Regions from separate parts of the Homo sapiens genome. Here region 1 is linked to region 2. The links are contacts of gene promoters, found by promoter capture Hi-C in blood cells and fetal thymus (Javierre and others, 2016). All regions are on one chromosome and are shown on one strand. Each heading gives the region's core, a stretch centred on a gene start or on the middle of the fragment in contact. The rest is flanking DNA. Distances are from core to core; before and after follow the strand shown. Region 1 has its middle 4.4 kb from the start of SP1. Region 2 holds the start of AMHR2 (anti-Mullerian hormone receptor type 2).

Region 1 (5,420 bases), core at 327-2,826, 47 kb after region 2:
GATTCCAACCCAGAATAGTTCCACCAAAAGTTTTCTATAAATTCTTGAGGGAATTAAACTGCCGCCGGGCGCAATGGCTCAGACCTGTAATCCCAGCACTATGGGAGGCCGAGGCGGGCGGATCGCTTGAGCCCAGGAGTTAAAGACCAGCCTGGGCAACATGGTGAAACCCCGTCTCCACAAAAAATAACAAAAATTAGCCAGACGTGGTGATGTGCGCCAGTAGTCCCAGCTACTCGGGAGGCTGGGGTGGAAGAATCGCTTGAACCCAGGAGGTTGAGGCTGCAGTGAGCTCAAATCCTGCCACTGCACTCCAGCCAGGACAACAAAGCAAGACCTTGCTCCAAAATAAGTAAATATATAGACTGGGCGCGGTGGCTCATGCCTGTAATCCCAGCATTTTGGGAGGCCGAGGCAGGCGGATCACCTGAGGTCAGGAGTTCAAGACCAGCTTGACCAACATGGAGAAACCCCGTCTCTACTAAAAATATAAAACTAGCCAGGCATGGTGGGACATGTCTGTAATCCCAGCCACTTGGGAGGCTGAGGCAGGAGAATCGCTTGAATCCAGGAGGCAGAAGTTGTAGTGAGCCAAGATCGTGCCATTGCACTCGGGCCTGGGCAACGACAGTGAAACTCCATCTCAAAGAAAAAAAAAAAAGTAAATATATAGATGCTTTTTAATTTTTACTGTCTAGCTCCTGAAAAAAAAAAAAAAAAGCCTACTCCCAGGACGGATCAAATGGCATCATCCTCTTAGATACCTTTATTATAAAATTTATCAGAATACATGACAATTAATTTCATCTCTCACTGTATCAAGGTTTCTCAAAATGAAATGTCACACACTCTCAGAATCCTCTGGGTTCTTTTTTCAAAAAAGGCAGATTCCTAGATTTCCACCCTAAACCTATTTTTAAGTAGCTCTTTCAAGTGATTAGGCCCTAAACCTAGTTTAAAACACACCAAGAAGGCTGGGCGCAGTGGCTCATGCCTGTAATCCCAGCATTTTGGCAGGCAGAGGCGGGCAGATCACTGGAGGTCAGGAGTTCGAGACCAGCCTGACCAACATGGTGAAACCCCATCTCTACTAAAAATACAAAAATTAGTCGGGCGTGGTGGTGCATGCCTATAGTCCCAGCTACTCGGAAGGCTGAAGCAGGAAAATCGCTTGAACCTAGAGGCGGAGGTTGCAGTGACCGGGGATCATGCCACTGCACTCCAGCCTGGGCGACAGAGCAAGATTTGGTCTCAAAGAAAAGAAAAGAAAACAAAACAAAACAAAAACACCAAGAGAAGAAACTGGGGAAAAGAAACTTCCAGAAAGGGAGAAATTTCCTGGAAGGAAGAAACTGCATTACTCATCTTTGTAAACCAAGCTCTGAAGATTCTAATAGCTGTTTAGTCCATTCAGCAACTGTCCATACCTAAACTTGCTTAGGGGTGGAGGTAGGGAGAGGAAACTTAACACCGTGGAGGAGTATTCTAAACATTTCACATATTTATCTAATTTAATTATTCCTACCAATTTAAGAGATAGTTGTCCCCTTTTACAGATGAGAAAACTGAGGCTCAGATATTTTAGTTAAATTATGACTGTTCTGTTTAGTTCCAAAGCCTGTGTTTTTTCCATAGTCCTAGACTACACCCGAATTGGGAATTAGGATAAAATTAAACTGACAAAAAGACCTAAATTCAGAAATTCAATAGCCATCATCCTTTTTACAATCCTTTCCCCTTTGCTCCTCCAGAAGAAGACAATTCAGCATGAGGCCAGTGAGGAATGCCCTAGACGTATACTAGTTTATTGATAGTCCCTGAGAGCAAATGAATGACATGATCCATCTTGTCCAATTGCTCTGTAAAAACCTGAAAAAGTGTTCTTTAGACTGAAAAAAAAAAACAAAAACAAAAAAACCAACTTATATCAAGGCTATTCAGATCCCTTACATGCACACACGCAGTGTCTATCTTTTCTTTTTTTTTTTTGAGAGTCTCACTCTGTCTCCAAGCCTGGAGTGCAGTGGTGCGATCTCAGCTCACTGCAACCTCTGCCGCCCAGGTTCAAGTGATTCTCCTGCCTCAGCCTCCCAAGTAGCTAGGATTACAGGTGCACGCCACTATGCCTGGCTAATTTTTGTATCTTAGTAGAGATGAGATTTCATCATGTTGGCCAGGCTGATCTCAAACTCCTGACCTCAGGTGATCCTCTGCCCACCTCGGCCTCCCAAAGTGCTGGGATTACAGGTGTGAGCCACTGCGCCCGGCAATTTTTTTTTTTCCTGAGACGGAGTCTTGCCCTGTTTCCCAGGCTGGAGTGCAGTGGCGCGACTTTGGCTCACTGCAACCTCTGCCTTTCAGATTGAAGCAATTCTTTCTGCCTCAGCGTCCCTTGTAGCTGGGACTACAGACATGTGCCACCATGCCTGGCTAATTTTTGTATTTTTAGTAGAGACAGGGTTTCACCATGTTAGCCAGGCTGATCTTGAACTCCTGACCTGAGTTGATCTGCCCGCCTCAGCCTCCCAAAGTGCTGCGATTACAGGTGTGAGGCACTGCACCTGGCTACCTGGTTAACTTTTTGATGTTTTGTTGAGATCTCATTATGTGGCCCAGTTGGTGTTGAACTCCTGAGCTCAATCCCAAAGTGCTGGGATTACAAGCACGAGCCACCATGCCCTGCTTAAAATTCGTATCTTTTTTTTTTCTATACAGAGTCTCGCTCTATGGCCCACACTGGAGTGCAGTGGCGCGATCTCGGCTCACTGCAAGCTCTGCCTCCCGGGTTCACGCTATTCTCCTGCTTCAGCCTACTGAGTAGCTGGGACTACAGGCACCCATCACCACGCCTGGCTAATTTTTTGTATTTTTAGTAGAGACGGGGTTTCACCATGTTAGCCAGGATGGTCTCGATTTCTTGACCTCGTGATCCGCCCACCTCGGCCTCCCAAAGTGCTGGGATTACAGGCATGAGCCACCGGGCCCAACCATTTTTTTTTGTTGGGGGTACAGGGTCTCGCTCTGTTGCCAGGCTGGAGTGCAGTGGCGTGATCTTGGCTCACTGCAACCTCCGCCTCCTGGGCTCAAGCGATTCTCCTGCCTCAGCCTCCCAAGTAGCTGGGACTACAGGCGCACGCCACCACACCCAGCTAATTTTGGTATTTTTAGTAGAGACAGGTTTTCACCATGTTGGCCAGGATGGTCTTGATCTCTTGACCTTGTGATCCACCTGCCTTGGCCTCCCAAAGTGCTGGGATTACAGGCGTGAGCCACTGCACCCGGCCAAATTCATATCTTTTATAAGAATGACTTCTATGAAGCCTTTCCTACCCCCCTCAGTTATTGAATACACTGGCCACTGTGCTCCTTTTATTTGCCACCATTAGAGGTATCTAAGTATCCTGTCTCCCCAACTACATTAAGCGATTTGAGGGCAGGGATGATGCCTTTTCACTTTGGATTCTCAGGGCCTGGAATATAGTTGAGTCCCAGTAAACATTTTTGTTAAATGGGAGGGGAAGCCTAATCCTGACCATCCTGAATAGTCTCCAGATATAATACTAAGATTGATTCTCAGCTTTCATTTGGGTGCCTTATAAAAGTTAAATCATTCTTCCTAATTTTTGTTTGTTTGTTTGTTTTATTTTGAGATGGAGTCTCCCTCTGTCGCCCAGGGTAGAGTGCAGTGGCAGGATATGGGCTCACTGCAACCTCCGTCTCCCAGGTTCAAGTAATTCTCCCACTTCAGCCTCCGAGGTAGCTGGAACTACAGGCACATGCCACCACCCCTGGCTAATTTTGTTATTTTTAGTAGAGATGGGGGTTTCACCATGTTGGCCAGGCTGGTCTCAAACTCCTGACCTCAAGTGATCCGCCCGTCTCAGCCTCCCACAGTGTTGGAATTACAGGCATGAGCCACCGGGCCTCTTCCTGATTTTGAACCCAATCCTCAGCTTTTTTCAGTCTCCCATTTAGGAATCTGATAATTAAGAACATTTTACAGGCCGGGCGCGGTGGCTTACCCCTGTAATCCCAACACTTTGGGAGGCTGAGGCAGGCGGGTTACCTGAGGTTGGCAGTTCGAGACCAGCCTGACCAACATGGAGAAACCCCATCTCTACTAAAAATACAAAATTACCCAGGCGTGGTGGCGCATGCCTGTAATCCCAGCTACAAAGGAGGCTGAGGCAGGAGAGTCGCTTGCACCCCGGAGGTGGAGGTTGCAGTGAGCCAACGTTGCGCCATTGCACTCTAGCCTGGGCAACAAGAATGAAACTCCATCAAACTCTCAACTACAGCTGAGTACAAAGTGGACTAACTGAAATTTCTTTTACCTGTCCTGCCTACTCTAGATTAAAGGAGGCTAGAAAAGAAGAGAGTCTTTTGACAAAACAGTAAAGTCTTGCAGTCTTCTAAACCCTTACTTTCCACCTCTCTGAACAAGAAAACAAGCCTAGACTTTTCACATCAGAAGCTTGTGATAAGCAGGCTAGGATCATTCAGTGCAATTAGGACTATAGAAGCTGGATGGAACATCACATACATCCCCGGAAGTCTTTTAAGAGCCCTGGAAAAGCAAGAAACTGATCCAAAAAGAAACTGAAACAAGACAGGCTTCTTTCTGGTTGGCAAGCCCAGAACTTGTGAGAAATTCAGTACTGGCTGCTGTTAACTGGTTGCTGATAATCTTTTTTGTGTTTGTTTCTTTGTTTGTTTTTATGAGACAGAGTTTTGCTCTTGTTGCCCAGGCTGAAGTGCAATGGCGCAATCTCAGTTCACTGCAACCTCCACCTCCCGGGTTCAAGTGATTCTCCTGCCTCAGCCTCCTGAGTAGCTGGGATTACAGGCATGCACCACCATGCCCGGCTAATTTTGTATTTTTTTAGTAGAGATGGGGTTTCTCCATGTTGGTCAGGCTGGTCTCCAATTCCTGACCTCAGATGATCCACCCGCCTCGGCCTCCCAAAGTCCTGGGATTACAGCTATGAGCCACCGCGCCCGGCCAATATTCTTTTTTTTTTGTTTTTTTAGAGACAGTCTCGCTCTTTCGCCCAGGCCGGACTGCAGTGGCACTATCTCGGCTCACTGCAAGCTCCGCCTCCCAGGTTCATGCCATTCTCCTGCCTCAGCCTCCCGAGTAGCTGGGATTACAGGCGCCCGCCACCTCGCCCGGCTAATTTTTTGTATTTTTAGTAGAGACGGGGTTTCACCGTGTTAGCCAAGATGGTCTCGATCTCCTGACCTCGTGATCCGCCCGCCTCGGCCTCCCAAAGTGCTGGGATTACAGGCATGAGCCACCGCGCTAGGCCTTTTCTTTATTATTATTAACATTATTTAAAGTGACTCATTCTGTTGTAAGCTGGGCGCGGTGGCTCACGCCTGTAATCCCAGCGCTTTGGGAGGCCGAGGCGGGCGGATCA
Region 2 (5,329 bases), core at 1-2,500:
TCCCCTCCTGAGAGCTTGCGTCTCAACCCACCCCCACCCTGGTCACAAGACCCCTTATCTCCCAGTCACCAGGGCAACCAACTTCCCAAGGCCAGGAGGAGGAAAGCGTGGGGCGGGAGTAGGGTGAGAACTGGCCCTGGTTCCACCTCTCATCCTAACCTGGGCCCCAGCCCCCATCAGGCTTCAGTACCCTTGGGTGGCTACCTGGGGCAGCCTGGGGACCCTGGGAGCCAGGAGTCCCAGGGCTCCCTGGAGGAGGCAGATGGCTGTAATTGGCATTGCAGAAGTCAGTGCCACAGGAGCAGGTGAAGAGAGTGGAGCCAGGGCTGGGGTGGGCTCGGGGACTTGGGTCACAGTGGAGGGACTCACAGCCTGGCTCATCACTGTCTCGGCATCCTGATGGGATGGGATTAGGGGAAGAGGAGAGAAAGGGGGGGCAAGGAAGAAAGCACAATGGGGTGTGGAAACAGAGGGTAAATCCCTTCTCTATCAGAGGCGTCCCTTCCAGCTCTCATGGGCTTTTCTTTCCCACCAGATGTTCTATTTCTCCCCTTCCCCCTTGGTTGCCACCCACACCCCAGGATGTGTCTGTCTCCCACCCTAGCCATCACCTGCCATATACTTTGCCATTCACCTTGCATTTCCACCTGTGCCCGGTCTTGGGTCAGGTTCCAGATCCCAAAGCAGCAGCGGCTGTAGAGGCAGCGGATAGCTCTGGGGAGCTCTGTGCCTGTATCTAGCAGCTCTCCCAGTGTCTTTGTGCTTCCCCGCACTCCAGGGGCCTCAAAGAACACACAGGTTCGCCTGTTTGGGGGTGCTGAGGCCCAGGGTGGGGAAAGGAAAAGATTCAAGGTGGGAGTGAATGCAGAGGCAAAAAACTGGCCAAAAGAATAGACAAAACATGTTCCACATCCCAGCGTCAGTATGGTAAAGCCACAGGAGGAAGCAGGGTCAGCAGAGGCCTGGAACCTGAGCCCTGCCATGGGGACACATGGCTCTATCCTTCACCCTTACTCACCCAGCCCACTCACCACTCTTCCAAAGGGGTGGCTCTTGCTTCAAGCGCCCCTTTCCCTTGCTGGATGGATGGAGAGACCCTTCCCCTCCCTGTAGACACTTACCTTCCACAGCTGTGGGAAGTAATGCCCAAAGCCCCAAAGACCCTAGCATCTTGCTGGAGGATGGCAGCAGCAGAAGGAGAAGAGCATAAGCCAGCACAGCTGCCCCTGGCCAAATCTTTCTTCAGATACAGGGCATCCTGGGGCTTCTGATCCCTCAGTCCCCAACTCCGCCCCCCTCATCCTATCCCAGCCTCTGTGGGGGAGAAGGCTGCTGTGGGGGAGAGGGTGGGTGTGGGGAAAGCAGGGAAAGAAAGGGAGGAGCAGAGAACCAATCTCATATCCTCTTCTCTTCTGCAACCTCCTCTTTGCTCTGCATAGTGAGAGGAGGGGAACTTGGAGGCCCAGCTGAGAACCCAGTGATGCCTAATTTCAAATCTTTGCCCTTCCCTGACCTTGGAAGAAGATGCTGGACTCTGTTGACTCTTCTCAGGAGGAAACCAATGTGAGGTCAAATGCTTAGAGCCATTCAGCTCTGCCCAAGATCCTTTCTAGCCTAAGATCTCTTTATATTCAGGGTTCATATCTGCAACTGCTTGGGCAGAGGAAGGCCTCACAGCCCATATTAGAGGTTACCTTGTTTTCCAACTTAAGAATCAGAAAGTATACAAAACTTACCTGAATTTTTAAAAAACACATTGAAAACAGTAACAATGGTAAATTTTGCTATGTGGATTTTTTTTTTTTTTTTTTTGAGACGGAGTCTCGCTCTTCTCCCCCAGGCTGGAGTGCAGTGGCACGATCGCAGCTCACTGCAACCTCCGCCTCCTGGGTTCAAGCTATTCTCCTGCCTCAGCCTCCTGAGTAGCTGGGATTACAGGCGCCTGCCACCACACCTGGCTAATTTTTGTATTTTTAGTAGAGACGGGGTTTCACCATGTCAGCCAGGCTAGTCTCGAACTCCTTACCTCAGGTGATTTGCCCGCCTCGGCCTCCCAAAGTGCTGGGATTATAGGCGTGAGCCACCATGCCTAGCCGTGGATTTTACTTAAAAAAAAAAAACACATTGGTTCACAGGCTGAACAAATACCCATTATTAAGGAGGTAACAAATTTCTTATCAAGCACCTACTATGTGCTGGGGCACAGCTAGGGCTATGCATTTTACAATCATCTCATCTAATTCTCCCCTGAAATATTTATTATTATTATTTTATTTATTTATTTTTTGAGACCGAGTGTCGCTCTGTCACCAGGCTAGAGTGCAGTGGTGCCATCTTGGCTCACTGCAACCTCTGACTCCCTGGTTCAAGCGATTCTCCTGCCTCAGCCTCCCGAGTAGCTGGGATTACAGGCACGCACCACCATGTCCAGCTAATTTTTGTATTTTTAGTAGAGACAGGGTTTCACCATGTTGGCCAGGATAGTCTCGATCTCGTGACCTCGTGATCTGCCCGCCTTGGCCTCCCAAAGTGCTGGGATTACAAGTGTGAGCCACTGTGCCTGGCCTATTATTTTTATTATTTCCATTTTATAGGTAAGAAAACTGAACTTACGTAAGTCGCCCAAAGTCATTCAGCTAGGAAATAGCAGAGCTGGAATTTGAACTTAGGCAGGTCTGACTCCAAAGTCCAGGTTCTAGTCTTATTTTTATTATTATTTTTGTACTTTTAGTAGAGACGGAGTTTCACCATGTTGGCCAGGATGGGGTCGATCTTTTTTTTTTTTTTTTTTTTTTTGAGATGGAGTCTTGCTCTGTCGCCCAGGCTGGAGTGCAGTAGCGCGATCTCGGCTCACTGCAAGCTCTGCCTCCCGGGTTAACGCCATTCTCCTGCCTCAGCCTCCCGAGCAGCTGGGACTACAGGCGGCCGCCACCACGCCCGGCTAATTTTTTGTATTTTTAGTAGAGACGGGTTTTCACCGTGTTAGCCAGGATGGTCTTGATCTCCTGACCTCGTGATCCGCCCGCCTCGGCCTCTCAAAGTGCTGAGATTACAGGCGTGAGCCACTGCGCCCGGCCGAAGGGGTCGATCTCTTAACCTCGTGATCCCTCCGCCTCGGCCGCCCAAAGTGCTGGGATTGCAGGCGTGAGCCACCGCACCCGGCCGGCTCTATTCTTTGTATTACACTATACTGCCTGAAAGACGTACAAAATTCAACAATGAAAAAAAATTACCACTTAATACTATACTTGGACATTTGAATTTAAATTGTTGAGAAAATATGCATCATTACCTGCCAACAGGCCACTAACTAAAAAGGGAGGGTACAGTTCAAACTATCACCACCAGAGGTCAGCAGAGGAGAAATTCCCTGCTGCGGTGAGAGGGCAGAAAGTACCTCCTCTGATGACTAATACATATAGTATACCTCCTACATTTACTAAGCTTCAGGGACTATAAAATGTGAAGGGCGGGCACAGGATGTGGAGAGTTTCAGCATGGAGTTGGGAGGAGAGGGCTATGGCTTGTTCTGCAGTAGAGACAGAGGAGTCCAACTCCACCAGACTCTTTCCCAGAGTAAGAAACAACAGAAATAGGTAATCACTTCCACACCTGTGAGCCACTGGCTCCTTGAGAATTAAGAGTCAGAGGGGACTTGTTCTCTGTTTCCCTAGCTTTCTGTCCCCCTAGTGGCTTCCTGGAAACCCTTTCTTGGAATGATCTGGCTTAGACCAGGGAGGACAGTCTGAGTACCGACATTTTTTTTTTTTTTTTTTTTTGAGACGGAGTCTCGCTCTGTCACCCAGGCTGGAGTGCAGTGGTGCGATCTCGGCTCACTGCAACCTCTGCCTACCGGGTTCAAGCGATTCTCCGGCCTCAGCTTCCTGAGTAGCTGGGACTACAGGCGCATACCACCACGCCCGGCTAATTTTTGTATTTTTAGTAGAGACGGGGTTTCGCCATGTTGGCCAGGCTGGTCTCAAACTCCTGACCTCAGGTAATCCGCCCCCCTCGGCCTCCCAAAGTGCCGGGATTGCAGACGGGAGCCACTGCGCCCAGCTTGAGTACTGACTTTTTGATTCTGGGGTCTTTCTTCTGGGAAACCTGCATGAAAGGAAGAGATAGTAAAAGTTCCAGTAGTTGTGAAACAGCAGCGGGAGGAATGACCAGGGCTCGAGATAGCCGCCCATCCTTCTTTGGACCCTTCCAGGAGTCTGCAGGGCCTTGCCAGTGAGATGGAATGTTGTGCTTCCAGCTACTTTCCTTCACTAGCCCCAGATCAGATAAGTCTGGGGTGGTGTGTGTGGTGGGGTGTGAGGGGAGATTTGAAGGTGAAATAGCTTCTTTTGTCTGGAATGTCTCAGGAGACTATCTCCTCCAGAGTGGGAGCAGCGTAAGGATCAGGCAGAAAGGCAGTCTCCTCACCCAAAGCTTCGGATAACTAATTCTTTCCAAGATAGAAACATTCCAGTCAGGTTTATGGGAACTATACCTGCTCTGGGCTGTTAGGTTTTAGAGTTAAGATGGTGATAGAGGCTGGGCGCTGTGGTTCATGTCTGTAATCCCAGTACTTTGGGAGGCCAGGAGTCCCCCTGGGTAACATAGCGAGACCCCCACCTATATTATTTTTAAAAAAAAATTTCCTTTTTTTTTGAGACGGAGTCTCACTCTGTCATTCAGGCTGGAGTAAAGTGGTGCAATCTCCGCTCACTGCAACCTCCGCCTCCTGGGTTCAAGCAATTCTCCTGCCTCGGCCTCCCAAGTAGCTAGGATTACAGATGCCTGTCACCATGCCTGGCTAATTTTTTGTATTTTTAGTAGAGATGGGGTTTCACTATGTTGGCCAGGCTGGTTTCAAACTCCTGATCTCAGGTGATCCACCGCCTAGGCCTTCCAAAGTGCTGGGATTACAGGCGTGAGCCACTGCGCGGGGCCAAAAAAAATGTATTTCATTAGGTGCTGGGCCTACAAAGATAGAGGTGTGATTACTGCCCTCTGGGAACTCATAGTGTAGAAATGCAGGTGGATATTGACAAGCAACCGGAAAACTGTGTTTCCTACTAGGGGCATGAGGAAGGAGCTATACAAATAGATCAAGTAAGCTAATTCTGCCTAGGGCATAGAAGAAAGGTGCCCAGAGAGTTTCACAGAGAAGGGGATATTTAAATAGTCCCAAAGGTAAACACAATGGTAAGAGGAGAACAGTCCTTCTAAGCAAAGGGAATGGCAAGAGTAAAGGCATGGAGATATAAACACAAAGGCTTGTGTGTTAAAGGTGGAAGGAGTGAGGAGGAAGCAGTATGAGATATGAGACAGAAAATCACCTTAG

What was found. Contacts are between HindIII fragments. The CHiCAGO score rates a contact against its expected background, and 5 or more counts as called.
Region 1: a fragment that was not itself captured here is called in contact with the fragment with the promoter of AMHR2 in region 2 in 16 of 17 cell types (total B cells, erythroblasts, megakaryocytes and 13 more); the score reaches 13.3 in total B cells.

What each region holds. Positions count from the first base shown.
Region 1 is chr12:53,373,112-53,378,531 of GRCh38, reverse strand. No RefSeq gene overlaps it. Among named protein-coding and RNA genes, the nearest start is that of SP1, 4.4 kb to the left of the region's middle. The HindIII fragment of the contact is 5,800 bases long and covers 1-4,476 here.
Region 2 is chr12:53,419,776-53,425,104 of GRCh38, reverse strand. It overlaps AMHR2 (anti-Mullerian hormone receptor type 2), which reads right to left and starts at 1,250. Exons shown (of 11, transcript NM_020547.3): 1 at 1,122-1,250; 2 at 635-817; 3 at 205-396. The coding sequence starts at 1,170. RefSeq lists a cis regulatory region at 3,163-3,681 and an enhancer at 3,366-3,932. The HindIII fragment of the contact is 5,088 bases long and covers 1-3,446 here.